Linked DNA regions of Homo sapiens: region 1 is linked to region 2. Evidence: promoter capture Hi-C in 16 types of primary human blood cells and fetal thymus (Javierre and others, 2016). All regions are on one chromosome and are shown on one strand. Each heading gives the region's core, a stretch centred on a gene start or on the middle of the fragment in contact. The rest is flanking DNA. Distances are from core to core; before and after follow the strand shown. Region 1 holds the start of ATP6V1G1 (ATPase H+ transporting V1 subunit G1). Region 2 holds the start of NAA35 (N-alpha-acetyltransferase 35, NatC auxiliary subunit).

Region 1 (6,974 bases), core at 2,053-4,552, about 29 Mb before region 2:
TTATTTGTATTTGTCTTATTTTTTTGTAGAGACAGGGTCTTGGTTTATTGCCCAGGCTGGTTTTGAACTTGTGGCTTCAAGCAATCCTCCCACCTCAGCCTCCCAAAGTATTGGGATTACAGGTGTGAGTCACTATGCCCAGCCACGTTTTAATGGCACTGTAATTGCCAAGAACAAAGATGATCCAGCACTTTGGGAGGTTGAGATGTGAGGATCACTTGAGGCCAGGAGTTCGAGACCAGCCAAGGCAACACAGCAAGACCCTATCTCTACAAAAACAAAAAAAAAATTAGCTGAGCATGATGGATCATGCCTACAGTCCTAGCTACTCAGAAGGCTGGGCAGGGGAGGATCGCTTAAGCCTAGAAGCTCCAGGTCACCGTGAGCTATGATCACACCACTGCACTAAAGCCTGAATGATAGAGTGTGACTCTGTCTCTTAAAAAGAAAAAATAAAAAATTGATCAAAATTTTTGCTACTTAATGCAAGGAGGGAGGTATGTGCCTTTACTCACTGGACTTGGGCCTGGAAGTGTGTATGCTGGAACTACTAGAGGCCACAGTGTAGAACTTGAGAATGATACAAAGCCAAACACAGAGGTGAGAGAAAGTCCTGAGCATATTATTTAAGCTCTTGGGTTTTTAATTATATAGGCCAATACATCCCATTTAGAATCAGTTTTAATTATATTTTGTTACCTGCACCCAAGAGTCCTGATAGTTTCTTTTCTCTGTGAGGCCCTTATCCATCCTTTCCCCTTTCCACAATTGTCCCTGCCTCCTCTATGCTTTCTGTGATCTGTTTTTGTACTATTATTGTATGCACCATAGTATAGCCTACATCACTGGTAAATGTCTGTACTATATACAATATACTAAAGTGGGGCTCCATTTGATTTATGTTTATGACCGTCACAGCATTTTTCAGTAGTAGCTCTGCATGATTTGCACTGTATTACTGAGTCTCCCTGACCACTGGATGGTAAGCTACACTCCATGAGGGAAGGGACCATGTCTATTCCTGGTCACAACTGATCCCTAGCATCTAGCACAGTACCTGGCGCATGTTAACTGCTTAACAGATACGTGTTAAATGAGTGAATAAATGAAAATTAGAAATCAATATGAATGGAAAAACTGATCATCCTAAAAGACAGATGCCTGAGCAGCCAATAAAACACACAGCTACCACATTTTCAAACTTCGACCAGGATCTCTGAGCTATGCTGGATATTCTGAAAGCCTTGGCGGGACAGGGGATCAGAAACTAAAGCAGTAACAAAAACAAATGGTGCCCCACCGCAGCTTCCTTGGCCTTGAATTCTTTCTCCCTCTGCAGGCGGTACTGTTCAATTTCAGCCTGAGCTTCTTCTTTGGCCTGCTTCAGCCTCCGGTTCTTTCCTGTTTTCAAAGGAGAGAGCTATATCAGGAAGTGGTTAAAAGTAGAAAAGCAAGCAGAGACAAGATGGTATATTATAACAATAAGCCAAGAATAAATTATGACACAGTCCGAAGAGATGTGCATGGGAAAGAGGGAATTCAGAGCTAACAAACAGTACAGGTTCCTCCCTCCTATAGGCTGTACTTAACTAGGAAGTGACAAGACAAAAATGAATACCTTCTGTAACTACAGCCCATTAAAAAGATGGAAAAAAATTGTAGAATGTGTCAGAATATTCTCTCAATCTCAACTATTAAGAACCAACATAAAATGAGTAACATTAACCATCTAGGGAACTCTTCTCCAGAAGTAAACACCTTAAGTATGCTGCTGATTAAAGGTGCAACCCTACTCAGATGCTTAGCAAGAAGGCTAATAAGCTCGCAAGGGACAGCAACATATAATGTAACTAATGAACCAACTATATAATGTAACACTGGAAACTAAAAGCAGTCCCTGTCACAAGGAAGTAAGGACAGTGGTGACTGAGAAGGAATGCTGAATGAGGAGTACTGGACAGTAAGACTGCACAAGTGGCTGAGAGAAGAGGAGACACAGGTATTTTGGTTTCTAGAAGTGAGTGGCTTAACATACAGCTGGAAAAAATCTCTAGGTTTGGTCAGAGTCTACATGAAAACAGACCACAAGGACAGCCAACATATAATCTCTGCTTTGAGTCTCCGCTCACCAATAAAAAAAAAAAAAGAGAGGTTCTAGACCATCAACCTATTTATTTGAGAGCAAAAGACATCCTGCATCTAAAATTAAGCTTTGTTATACAACACTGTACATCATTGTATACCAACTGTCTAGAGTCCACGCGAATGAGTGAAAATGAACTTAACCTTCCACATCCTGATTCAGAACAGAACTTTGGACCTGTAATGAAATGACCCCATGACATCAACATTCCCTGATGCTAGTCTGAAACAATTAACAGGTCTCTCTCTCAAAACTCCAAGAACTATTTCTGCAAGTCCACATTCACTCCAGTATTATTTCTGGCCTACTACTGTCTGCTTCGGCCACCTGTACCCCAATCCTTCACATGCTATCTTCCCATCAGCTATAATGGGCTGTATTTCAAAGCTAAAGATACTTTCGAAACCAACAATCTATAAATAACACTCATGGCCTGAACATTATGCAGTAGCTCCGCATGATTTCACAAGACATCACCTCCCAACTCCCATGGCTCCCTGCATTTATAACTCAGGATAATACCATTTACTGCCTTTGGCAAACATCTTCAACATTCAATTTTGACAGGGGCCTCTAAAAATCAAAAATATTTAAACAGAAAATCGTATTTCTCTTAAATCTTGTTCTTCTTGGGCCTTACATATGGGAGCCAGTGTTTTGTTTCACTCCAATGAAATATGCCATTAACACAAACTTTTTTAAAATTTTAAGGTCCACGCCGGGCGCGCTGGCTCACGCCTGTAATCCCAGCACTTTGAGAGGCCAAGGTGAGCAGATCACAAGGTCAGGAGTTCGAGACCAACCTGGCCACTATGGTGAAACCCTGTCTCTACTAAAAACACAAAAACTAGCCGGGCATGGTGGCAGGCACCTGTAGTCCCAGCTACTCGGGCGGCTGAGGCAGAAGAATCGCTTGAACCTGGGAGGCAGAGATTGTAGTGAGCCGAGATCACGCCACTGCCCTCCTGCCTGGGGGCGACAGAGCGAGAATCCATCTCAAAAAAATAAATAAACAAAATATATAAAATAAAATAAAAAATAATAAAAAAAATTTAAGGTCCAACTCAATGATTTCATTAAAAAAACTGGATGGGATCATTTTATATACTGCCTCTTCCCAACTCTTAACTGGGCAAATCAACCATAATTATAAATCAAGAAAGGCAAATTTTCAAACTGCAGTTCTTCTGACTACCTCTCTGTTCCTAACTATTAACAATTCTGAGACAGGCAAGGCGCAGTCGCTCATATCTGTAATCCCAGCACTTTGGGAGGCCGAGAGTTTGAGAAGAACCCGGCCGACATAGTAAAACACTGTCTCTACTAAAAATACAAAAATTTATTTTTTTATTTATGTATTAATTTATATGTTTTTGTATTTTTAGTAGAGATGGGCATGGTGGTAGGCACCTGTAATCCCAGCTACTTGGGAGCCTGAGGCACAAAATCTCGAACTCTGGAGGTGGAGGATGCAGTGAGCCAAGATGGTGCCACTGCACTCTAGCCTGAGTGACAGAGTGAGACTCTGTCTCAAAAAAAAAAAAAAAAATCTGAGAAGTATGTAAGCCATAAACTAATACTTTGGTTTGTTTTTTGTTTTTTTTTTTTTTTGAGACGGCGTCTCCCTCTGTCCCCAAGGCTGGAGTGCTGTGGGACAGATCTCCGCTCACTGCAACCTCTGCCTCCTGGGTTCAAGCGTTTCTCCTGTCTCAGCCTCCCAAGTAGCTGGGACTACACGCGCACACCACCACGCCCAGCTAACTTTTGTATTTTTAGTAGACACGGAGTTTCTCCATATTGCCCAGGCTGGTCTCAAACTCTTGATCTCAGGTGATCCACCCACCTCAGCCTCCCAAAGTGCTGGGATTACAGGCGTGAGCCACCACGCCCAGCCAAATTAATACTTTTTAAAACCAATTCACAGCTACCTGACATATACAAAACCCTGCACCAGGCTTGACAGGATAAAGGTATAAAACATAAATCCTACCTGGCTAGGGCACTCAGAATTATTCTTACCTATTCCAAGCATTTTTTCCTGCACTTCCCCAATCTATTCTCCTATCCCTCCCGACAGATACAACTTCTGTTACTGATGAGCCATCAGAACACAAACTGTGAGAAGTCATTCTGGAAATACACTATCAAGGGCATGACTGGAAATATTCTGGGAAGAACAAAGAACTTTCCAGTCACCGGAGCAAGAACAAAAGGCTTCTTCTCATTCCCAACACCCTCAAAGAAAGCTTTCCAAGTACCACACAACCCCTAACTGCACAAGTAGAGGAGACATGCTTGAAATCTAGTTGGATGTCAGATAGAATAACTCCTATACTAGGAGAAACACCAAGGAATTACTAAGATCAGTATCTTCGCCTTGCATGGAAAAAGAGGCTTCTGAGTCCCAACTATGTTGCTTCCCAGGGTATGGATAAATCATTTCTCTCTGAGCCTCATTTTTACTATCTGTAAAATAGGGATAGAAGCATCTTTCTCACCAGACGGGAAACTGGATACATAAAGTTAAATGAGACATAGTTTCTGTTCTCCAGAAGCTTAGTCTAGTGACTGAGCCATATAAACAAACAGGTTATTGCACGGCAGTGGCAGAAATCAGCACTTGGGAGGGACTCCAAGCCTAGTCCGGGGGACAAGCATGAGTCAGGAAAGGCTTCCCGGGAAGAAGTGTTTCCTAAATTGAGGTCTGATGGAAGACTAAGGGTCAGAGAACAAAGGGGAGGAGAATTGGAAAAGGCTTCTCACGTCAGAAGAAACAGCGTGTGCAAAAACCTGCAGGTGAAAGACATCATGCTGCTTCTGAGGGACCACAACGATTCAGTATAGCTGGAGGAAAGCACCAGGCCTGACCCACAAGAGCCTCCCCAACTTCATTAAGGAATTTGAGCTTTCTTCTGCAGGAACTAAACGTCTGACTACAAAGGCGGTAGGGAAATCATATCTGCACTTATTTATTTATTTTGTTCCTTACCAGCAGGAAGTCACATATTTGCATTTTAGAAGGATGACTGATTGCAGAGAGGAGAATGGATTGACTGGAGGGGACCAGAACGGGTTCTTCCACTCCCCAGTCTAGATTAAACTCACCTGTTAAATTCTTTAGCAACCTTACATTTCTCCACTCCAGCCCTCATCTCTCCTGCAATTAATTAACTGACCCAATACCTGCTTCCTTCACTGCGACACTGAATGCCACGTTAGGGGAGACAACTGATGCACTGGGCACTGCGCTTGCCACATATTAGACAGAAACACACACACACACACACACACACACACACTGCGCTTGCCACATGTTAGAAACACACACACACTGCGCTTGCCACATATCAGAAACACACACACGCACACACGCCAACGATTTAGACAACTACAGTACCTTTAGAGAAACTGGTGTCCTGGACTAAGACGCTGGTAGTAGACATGGGGGAAAAAGTGAAAGATACGCAAGCCTTGGCGACTGACTAAATGAGGGAGGGAGAAGAGGCAAGCAGGACTCCAGGTTTCTAGACCAAGCAACTGTGTGGATGCTGGCTCCCTTCACCGAGACTGACCACCCCAGAGCGGTTAAGTGGGAGAGAAGAAGAACAAAGAGCTCCGTTTGGAGAGCCCATTTCACATGCCTCCAGGCCCCAAGGACGGTAACCCATTATTGTTTCCACGCCCAATTTACCATCTCACATCGTGGCTTCCAGGCGATCCGCAAGCCTTCCAGAGCCTCAGCTCCTCAAAGCTTCGAAACACACAACCTTCCGCGACTATACGCACGCCCGCACCCCGCAGTTTTTCGGGCCTAATCTACCCACCACCTGAGGCCCAGCGGTCTTTCTTCGACTCGCGCCACGCCGGGCAGCCCCACCCTGAAACTCACTTTTGCGGGCCTCGGACACCTTCTCGGCTGCCCGCTTCTCGGCCTGCAGCAGCTGCTGAATCCCCTGAGACTGACTAGCCATGGCGGCAGCGATTCTGAGAGCAAGGCAAGCGGCCTAAGGCACCTCGAAGGCCCCTTGGGTCAGCTGACACAGCCGCCCACAATCTGCGCTTGCTCCTTGCGCCTGCGCTTCGCCCCCGTTGTCACGTGACCGCACAGCGTAGCATCAGCTGACCGCTCTTGAACTTCTGTGATTCGGCAGAAATGGGGCGGGGCGGGGCTGAGGAGAAAGGAGCGGAGCTCCTCGACTGCGCCTGTGCAGTCTACTGCGCAGTACTGCCCTCTACTCCTCTGTCCGCTCCCTGGCCTCTTTTAATGGCTACCCTGTCGCTGGTTCACTCTGTAGCCGCCCTGCCACGTATAGTGTCTGTTTGCAGTATGCTCAACGTCAAGAGAGGAGGGGCCAAGTCAAATCACTTTCCTCCTACTCTCCACACTGCTCTACTCACTCCCTTTCTGGGACTTTCTTTGGCACTCAAAATTTTATCGGGGTAGTTCAGGAAGATTCTTGCCAGTTCCGGGGATAGAGTCTTGGGTTGCCAGTTAGGAGACTCGGGATCAAGTCTGCCGCTAACCTGTGTGATTTTGGACAGGTCGCTATCCTTTTCTGAACCCGAGTTCAGGAATGGACTGGACTGTTTCCCATAAATATTTGATGAAAGCCTGCTGTGATCCTAGTCCACTGTTGATATTGAGGACATAGCAGAGAGCAGGGCAAACAAGGTCCCGGCGGAGCTCACAGTTTATGGACACAGACAGATTAATTAAAATAAATAGACAATTACAAACTGTGATAAAGTCATGAAGGAAAAATGCAGGGTGCCGTAAGAAGGAACCTTTAGTAAGGGGAGAGGAATATGGAGGTGTCTCTGAATGCTGTAC
Region 2 (7,072 bases), core at 2,321-4,820:
CCATGAATTTCTAAGATAAAACAGGAAATTATCAAGATATCTTGTACCTATGAATCAAGGTACTTTGAACTCCACCCATAAGATCTGGGAAGGAAAGGGTGAGAAGCAGTGTACGTGTTCACTCTCTTCTGCTGTCACCAAGGGAAAAGTTTAAGGCACACATCATCTCTCTTGTTTCTTTCACCTCTCCAGCAACATGAACTTATTTGTTCTCATATGTTACCCTTCTAGTCCATTCTGTCAAGGCCTAGTCCAAGGCCTTAACGCCCAAATCTGGGCTGAGTGCAAAACCTTGTCTAAGTAGACTCTTTTCATCCTAATCCATCATAAATTATGCTGGTAGAGAAACTTCTTTATATGCTTTCAACTCTAAATTAAATACCTTGAGTAACAACAGTTACCATCATTGAATGCTACTATAGAGTACTTTACATCCACTATCTCATTTAATCCCCAAAATTCTCTAAAGTAGAAGCTCTGTTTTCCAGAGTAGAAAACTAAGATTCAGATTAATTAAACTCCAAGGAAACTAAACTAGTAAGTGACAGAGTTAGGACTCCAGCTCATATCTGACTATAAAGCTTACTACATTACTTACTGAGAAGCTACTTGGTCCAAGCCACTGTACTGATCATCAAGGGGAACAAACTTTCAATCTTATGCTCAAATCCATTACTCCTACTGCCTATAAAACAAGCTCAAACCAAAAAAACAAAAACAAACAAAAAACATCAATGGCACTAAAGACGCTCTATAATTCCCAGCATTTAAAATTGTTTTGTGGCCAAGTAAAATTATTTACTGTTCCCCTAACATAAAAACCTCACCAAACTCTGACTCACATAGTTCATCTCAGTCTAGAATAACTCTATCACCTCCCTTTGCAAAAACTTGATCTCTCCTTAAGGCCCAACCCAAGCCATATAACCTTCAAAAACCTTCCCTATTTAGGTTAATAATGACAGCCCCCTAATAGAGATTACTTAAAATCAGTGCAAGATGACAGGTATAATCCACTTAATAGTCTAAGATCTCTGAGCACAAAAACTACACTGTAACTTGACATTTCTTTCTCTCTTCCTTAGATAGACATACATAGGCAGTCACCCAACTCCCAGTCTTACGTCCTTTCCACTGTCTCACTGAGGCTATAAAAAGTGATTTCAAAACAAAGGATGGCACATGATTTATCATTTTGCTTATACACAGCTGGCTCCCTTTCCACCTGCAGGTGCCCCAAGTCTTTACTCCTCCCCTTCAGAGCACTATCCAAACACACCCTACCTATCATCAAAAGACCTAAGCTGCTTGAGACAATACAAGCCATCAGGAGTGAATTCCTTCACCAGTCCTCCTCTGTCACTTAGAAATATACTTTTATCTTCATCCTAACTTCAGTCCTTCCTGTCTCAGTGTGTCCCTGTGCTTTTCCCCAATTTCTCTACTATCTCCTTGATCTCATCCTCTCTTTAACGTTCAAGCTCTCACTCTAGTTAATTTGTTCCTTTCTCTTATCTTCAGTCTCTCCCTAGACTCTTTCCCCTCAAGCAACAAGCATGTTCATTTCTCCAATCATTTACTCCTATTTATTGAATTTACTATGTGCCAGGAACTGTTCTGTATACTAGGGTTACAGAAATTATCTCTGCCCCCACGGAGCTTATATTCCAGTGAGTGAGACTGAAAATAAACAAGAAATAATTGACAATTATGGCTTCTGAAAAAGATAAGCTGTATGAAGAAAATAAAAAGTGATTCAACTGAGGTGGAATTGCAGAGGAGAGAATGAGTGGTTGTTTTGAGGTCCTCACCAGGGAGGTTAACACTTAAGAAGAATTGTGTGAAAGCGAGGGGCAAAGCAATTTAAAAGAAAGAAAACAAAAAATGCAAACACCTGGGAGAACCACCTTGGTGTGTATTACGAAGAGATAAAAAAGACCTGTGACTGGAATGTAATAAGCCTGGCGGGGACAGTGGCACATAAATGAAACCTGAGTGGCAGGCAGGGACCAGATTTTATAGACCCATAGGGAAGGAGGGTGGATTTTATTCTACCTGCAACAGGAAGCCACTGGACAATCTTAAACAAGGAATGATGTGATCTGATCATACTGAAACCTCAAACATACAAAAATACTATTATCTTTTAGATTAACAAAGTGTTTTCCACAGTTAGAAATTACTGCTCTCTCTAACCTGTTAAAGCAAGAAAAATTCAATTTTAAAATACTGCCTCAACATCTGTATTTAATGCTGTATCAAATATACATTTGCTTTAAAGTTAAAATTAGAGGATACAGAATAAGTGTGGCTAACAAACTCAACAAACCACATTTACCTGTTGATTTCATCTAATGAGGTAAGTTTAGAAAGCACAATCGTCATTCTACCCCTTCCAGATGCTGAACTTCTAATCCAAAAATCAGACTCACCTCGACAAGCTTCTTCAAAATCTTGGGTAATGTCCACCCAGTTTGTATTGCTTTTCTCCATTTTTTCTGGCATACTGAGCTCCCATCCTGAATCGTCATCATCTACAGAAGCTTTCATAACCATTATGCCTGTAAAATTAATACTGATGTAAGAGAGAGGATGTAGCTTTCAGGGCAAGAGTATTTGCAGAAATGGGTGTTTGTTTCAGCATAGGATGAAGTCTTAACTAAACTCTTTAAAGCAGAACTCTTCTGAGTCTAAGGACAGTACTGCAAAGAATAACCTTAATGCAATCAAATCGCACGTCAATTAACACTCCTGCTGCTTACTATTAGCCCACCACCTACCAGGGCCCATAAACATTTTGCCTTCCTACTGTTTAAGAAGAAAAATCACAAACCATCTCACCTCTGGCCCGAAAAGAACAACTCCAGAGCTTCCAACTTTCAATAATAGCCACAAAAGACCAAGGCACTATTCAGGGTCCCCTCTCGCAGCCCAGGACCCCATGCGGCAGCTACCGAAGTCAATCAAGGTAGCCCTTCATCTGGCCAGAGCTCGCTGGGACCTCTCCCGGGCCAGAGCCGGCCCGGACCCAGGCAGAACCTCGCCGGGAGCAATGAGGAGCCGGCAGGCACCGCAGGGTCCCGCCGGCCGGGCCTAGGGCCGAGGCACACCTGAGGCGGGCACACGCTTCCCTTCCGCCCTGCCCGGGTCAGCCCAGCCCAGCCCCGGTCCCACTGGGCGCATAAGCAAGGACAGAGCTGTCGCCGCGCGGGAGGGCGGGCACGTCCGGCGCCGGGTCGTCGCCTCGGCAACACCGGGCAAGAGTGGGGCCTCGGCCGACAGCGGGCACTGGGGAGCCCGCCGCTCCTACCTGACGCGCAGCGGGAGGGCCGGGGCCGCAGGGTGACCTGGGGTCCCCAGGATCTGCCACACGCGCGGGGGGCTGCGGCTCTCGGACACACGAGCGAGAGGGTTTCAATGGCTACGCAGGGGCGGTCCCTACCTACTTCTCCCGTGGTCACCCGCGCCGCCACGCACTGTCCGGACCACGGAAATAACGACGCCGCCTCGGCCGCCGCCGCCCCCTCCCCTCTCAGCCCAGCCCGACCGGCAGCGTGCACGCATGCGTATGCCCGGGACGCGCGACCCCGCCCCCTCTCCCTTACTCCCGGGGACTTCGCGCTCCCCGGCCACACCCCCTCCCTCGCCACCGCCTCCGTTCGGCCGATGGCGGCCGCCTTCTCTTCTCGCGAGATTAGAGACGATCGCGAGACCGGAAGTTATCTTTTTTCACCCTCTGTCGGAGTCCTGGGTAGTGGGCGGTTCCCGGAAAGAGGCGGAGCCCGGAGTCTCAGAGCCCGCCCCGTCTGCGCTGCCCTCTGGGAATTTCTTAGAAAGGTGACGCGAAGGCGGAAGGAAACCGTGGAGGTTTGCGTAGACCTTAGTGGTTGCGAGCACGAACGAGCAGCCAAGCTCCGAGAGCAACAGCGTGCTACTGCTGCCTGACAACGGATTTATGTTTCCTATACAGCGCCTGGGAGTTTCGTGAGGAAACATAGATTCAAAATATCTGCAAAGTCAAGCCAGACATTTAATTTCAGATTCTTATATGTTTTAGATTTTTTTAATTTATTAATAAAATGATCAGTTTTTAAATGGGGTTACATAAATAGACGGGCGCAGGTAAGAAGCACATCTTTATCACCACCTGTTCTTTAGGATGGCCCAAAATTAAAAGATGGAAAAGATAATACCAAATGTTGGCAAGGATGCAGAGCAACTGGACCTCTGTTATGTTGGTGGTGGTAATGCAAAATGGTACAACCACTTTGGAAAACTTAACAATCTCTCCTTATAATCATATACTTATCATTCGATCCAGTAATCTACGAATTTACTTAGGAACAAAAACATATTCATACAAAGGCTTGTACGTTAATGTTCATACCAGCTTTGTTTTGCTTTGTTTTTGTTTTTGTTTGAGACAGAGTGTCACTCTTGTCGCCCCTGCTAGAGTGCAGTGACCTGATCTCGGCTCATTGCAACCTCTGCCTTTCAGGTTCAAGCAATTCTCGTGCCTCAGTCTCCCGAGTAGCTGGGATTACAGGCGCCTGCCCCCACACCAGGCTGTTTTTTGTATTTTTAGTAGAGATGGGGTTTCACCATGTTGGTCAGGCTGATCTCAAACTCCTGACCTCGTGATCTGCCCACCTCAGCCTCCCAGAGTGCTGGGATTACAGGTATGAGCCACCGTGCCTGGCCCAGCTTTGTTTTTAATCATCAAAAACTACAGACAACCCAAATGTCCATCAACTGTTGAATAAAAACAATTTGTGGCATATCCATACAATGTAATGAATGTAATTATCAATAAACAGGGATAAACTACTTGACATACAACATGAATGAATTTCAAAAATATATTGAGTAAAAGAAATCAGGCTGAGCTTGGTAGCTGGTAGCTCATGCGTGTAATCCCAACACTTTGGGAGGCTGGCAGTGGAGAGGTCGGGTTGGAGACTAGCCTGACCAATATGGTGAAATCCTGTCTCTACTAAAAATACAAAAAAATTAGCCAGGCATGGTGGCGTGCGCCTGTAATCCCAGCCACTTGGGAGGCTGAGACAGGGGAATCCCTTGAACTCAGGAGGCAGAGGTTGCTGTGACCCGAGATGGTGCCATTGCACTCCAACCTGGGCGACAGAGTAAGAAATCAAATGCAAGAGTATGATTCCCCAAGTGAGACCCCAGGCTCTTAAAAGACATCTATAGTGACAGAAGACAGATTAGTGGCTGCTCAGGGCTCAAGAAGAGACTAAGTTGGATAGAGCTTGATTTGAAGTGATGTAAATATTCTGTTTTCGATTAAGGTAGTGCCTGTGTGGGTGAATACATTTGTAAAATTTCACTGAAGTATATACTTACAATGTGTACATTTTATTGTTTGTAAACCGAACTTCACAAAAATTGGTTTAAAAAATTTTTAAATGGCCGGGCGTGGTGGCTCACGCCTGTAATCCCAGTCCTCTGGGAGGCTGAGACGGGTGGATCACATGAGGTCAGGAGTTCAAGACCAGCCTGGTCAACTTGGCGAAACCCCATCTCTACTAAAAATACAAAAATTAGCCGGGCGTGATGGCGTGCACCTGTACTCCCAGCTACTCAGGAGACTGAGGCAAGAGAATCGCTTGAACCTGGGAGGTGTAGGTTGCAGTGAGCCGAGATCATGCCACTGCACTCCAGCCTGGGCAACAGAGCAAGACTGTCTCAAAAAACTTTAAAAATTAAGAATGCATATCTCTCTTACAGAATAATTTCCCAAAGGCAGAAGTTTTGCCTGTTTTGATCAAAGCTGTGTCGCCAGGACTTAGGGAAGTGGTTGGCCTATAGTAGGTACTCACTAAATACATTTGAGGATGAGAATGTAGAAAAGAGTTACAATAAAGTAGAAACATATATGCTAGTTTTCCAAAACTGTTTAATGATCTCTGCAGGACCATGAGATATCTAGAAAAGGATGAGCTGACTGCATCTGAGTTGTTCAGGATCATGTATAGGTTGTGACAAAAACTGATAGAGGAAAAAACACTCTTTTTTTGTAAATAAGACTGCTTCAGAACTTATATATATTTCAAATATACATATATATCTCAAACACAAATATACACATATATATTTTAAATACACAAATATACACACATATATATTTCAAATACACATTTATAACCAGAACACGGCAGCCAAGTGAAACCATTTTATTTACTAAAACTATAATTTATTTGAAATCCATATTTGATTTCTCCTAACCTCTCTGATTTAAAAACCATTTTCCCTGAGAAACCTTTAACTTCTGATGACATCCAATATTCGTTCTAATGTTGAAAAAGCAACGGGCATTTTAGACATAGACTATGTGATGAATGGATGCAAAGGAACTGATTGACAAATAATGATCTACCCAAACAACATAAGAGTAGATGGCCATTTTTGGAGAGATGGAAATTAATTCCTACAAGTCTAAATCTTGTTGTTGCTAGTAGATAAAATCCTAACTATTACGTGATTCAACACTTGTGTTGAGATGAACTTTAGCTCAATGGCATCATATTGTACTGACACTGGAACCCAGTGTCACATGAGTTTGATAAGAGCAGAGCTGCAAGTCAAAGTGGATTTTACATCAGTTTTACCATTACATAAAATAAATTAAGGAGGACCTACAGGCTGCTCAGAGAAATATTTTCAGAAAAGGAAGCAGAAAGAGTTAACATATCCTACTGTATCATGTGGCAGAAAGAAACATGGCACTGTTTTTGTGAGTTTTTAAATTAAATATGGATAATATCAAAATATCAGTTTAGTTCGTCCTACTATATTTATTTATGTATTTTTGAGACAGGGTCTCCCTCTCTCACCCAGGCTGGAGTGCAGTGGCACAATCTCAGCTCACTGCATCCTCGACCCCGGGCTCAAGTGATCCTCCCACCTCAGCCTTCAAACTACTTAGGACTACAGGTGCATGCCACCACACCTGGCTAATTTTTTGTATTTTTGGTAGACATGGGGTTTTGCCATGTTGCCCAGGCTAGTCTCAAACTCCTGAGCTCCGGCGATCCACCCACCTCAGCAGGTG

What was found. Contacts are between HindIII fragments. The CHiCAGO score rates a contact against its expected background, and 5 or more counts as called.
Region 1: a contact is called between a fragment that was not itself captured here and the fragment with the promoter of NAA35 in region 2, in 1 of 17 cell types (fetal thymus). The highest score is 5.9, in fetal thymus.

What each region holds. Positions count from the first base shown.
Region 1 is chr9:114,586,979-114,593,952 of GRCh38, reverse strand. ATP6V1G1 (ATPase H+ transporting V1 subunit G1) reads right to left here and starts at 6,184. Exons shown (of 3, transcript NM_004888.4): 1 at 6,033-6,184; 2 at 1,301-1,401. The coding sequence starts at 6,114. RefSeq lists enhancers at 5,749-6,258, 6,369-6,448, 6,087-6,905, 6,906-6,974. The HindIII fragment of the contact is 2,179 bases long and covers 2,213-4,391 here.
Region 2 is chr9:85,937,644-85,944,715 of GRCh38, reverse strand. NAA35 (N-alpha-acetyltransferase 35, NatC auxiliary subunit) reads right to left here and starts at 3,570. Exons shown (of 23, transcript NM_024635.4): 1 at 3,443-3,570; 2 at 2,433-2,561. The coding sequence starts at 2,556. RefSeq lists a silencer at 2,987-3,666. The HindIII fragment of the contact is 5,629 bases long and covers 2,546-7,072 here.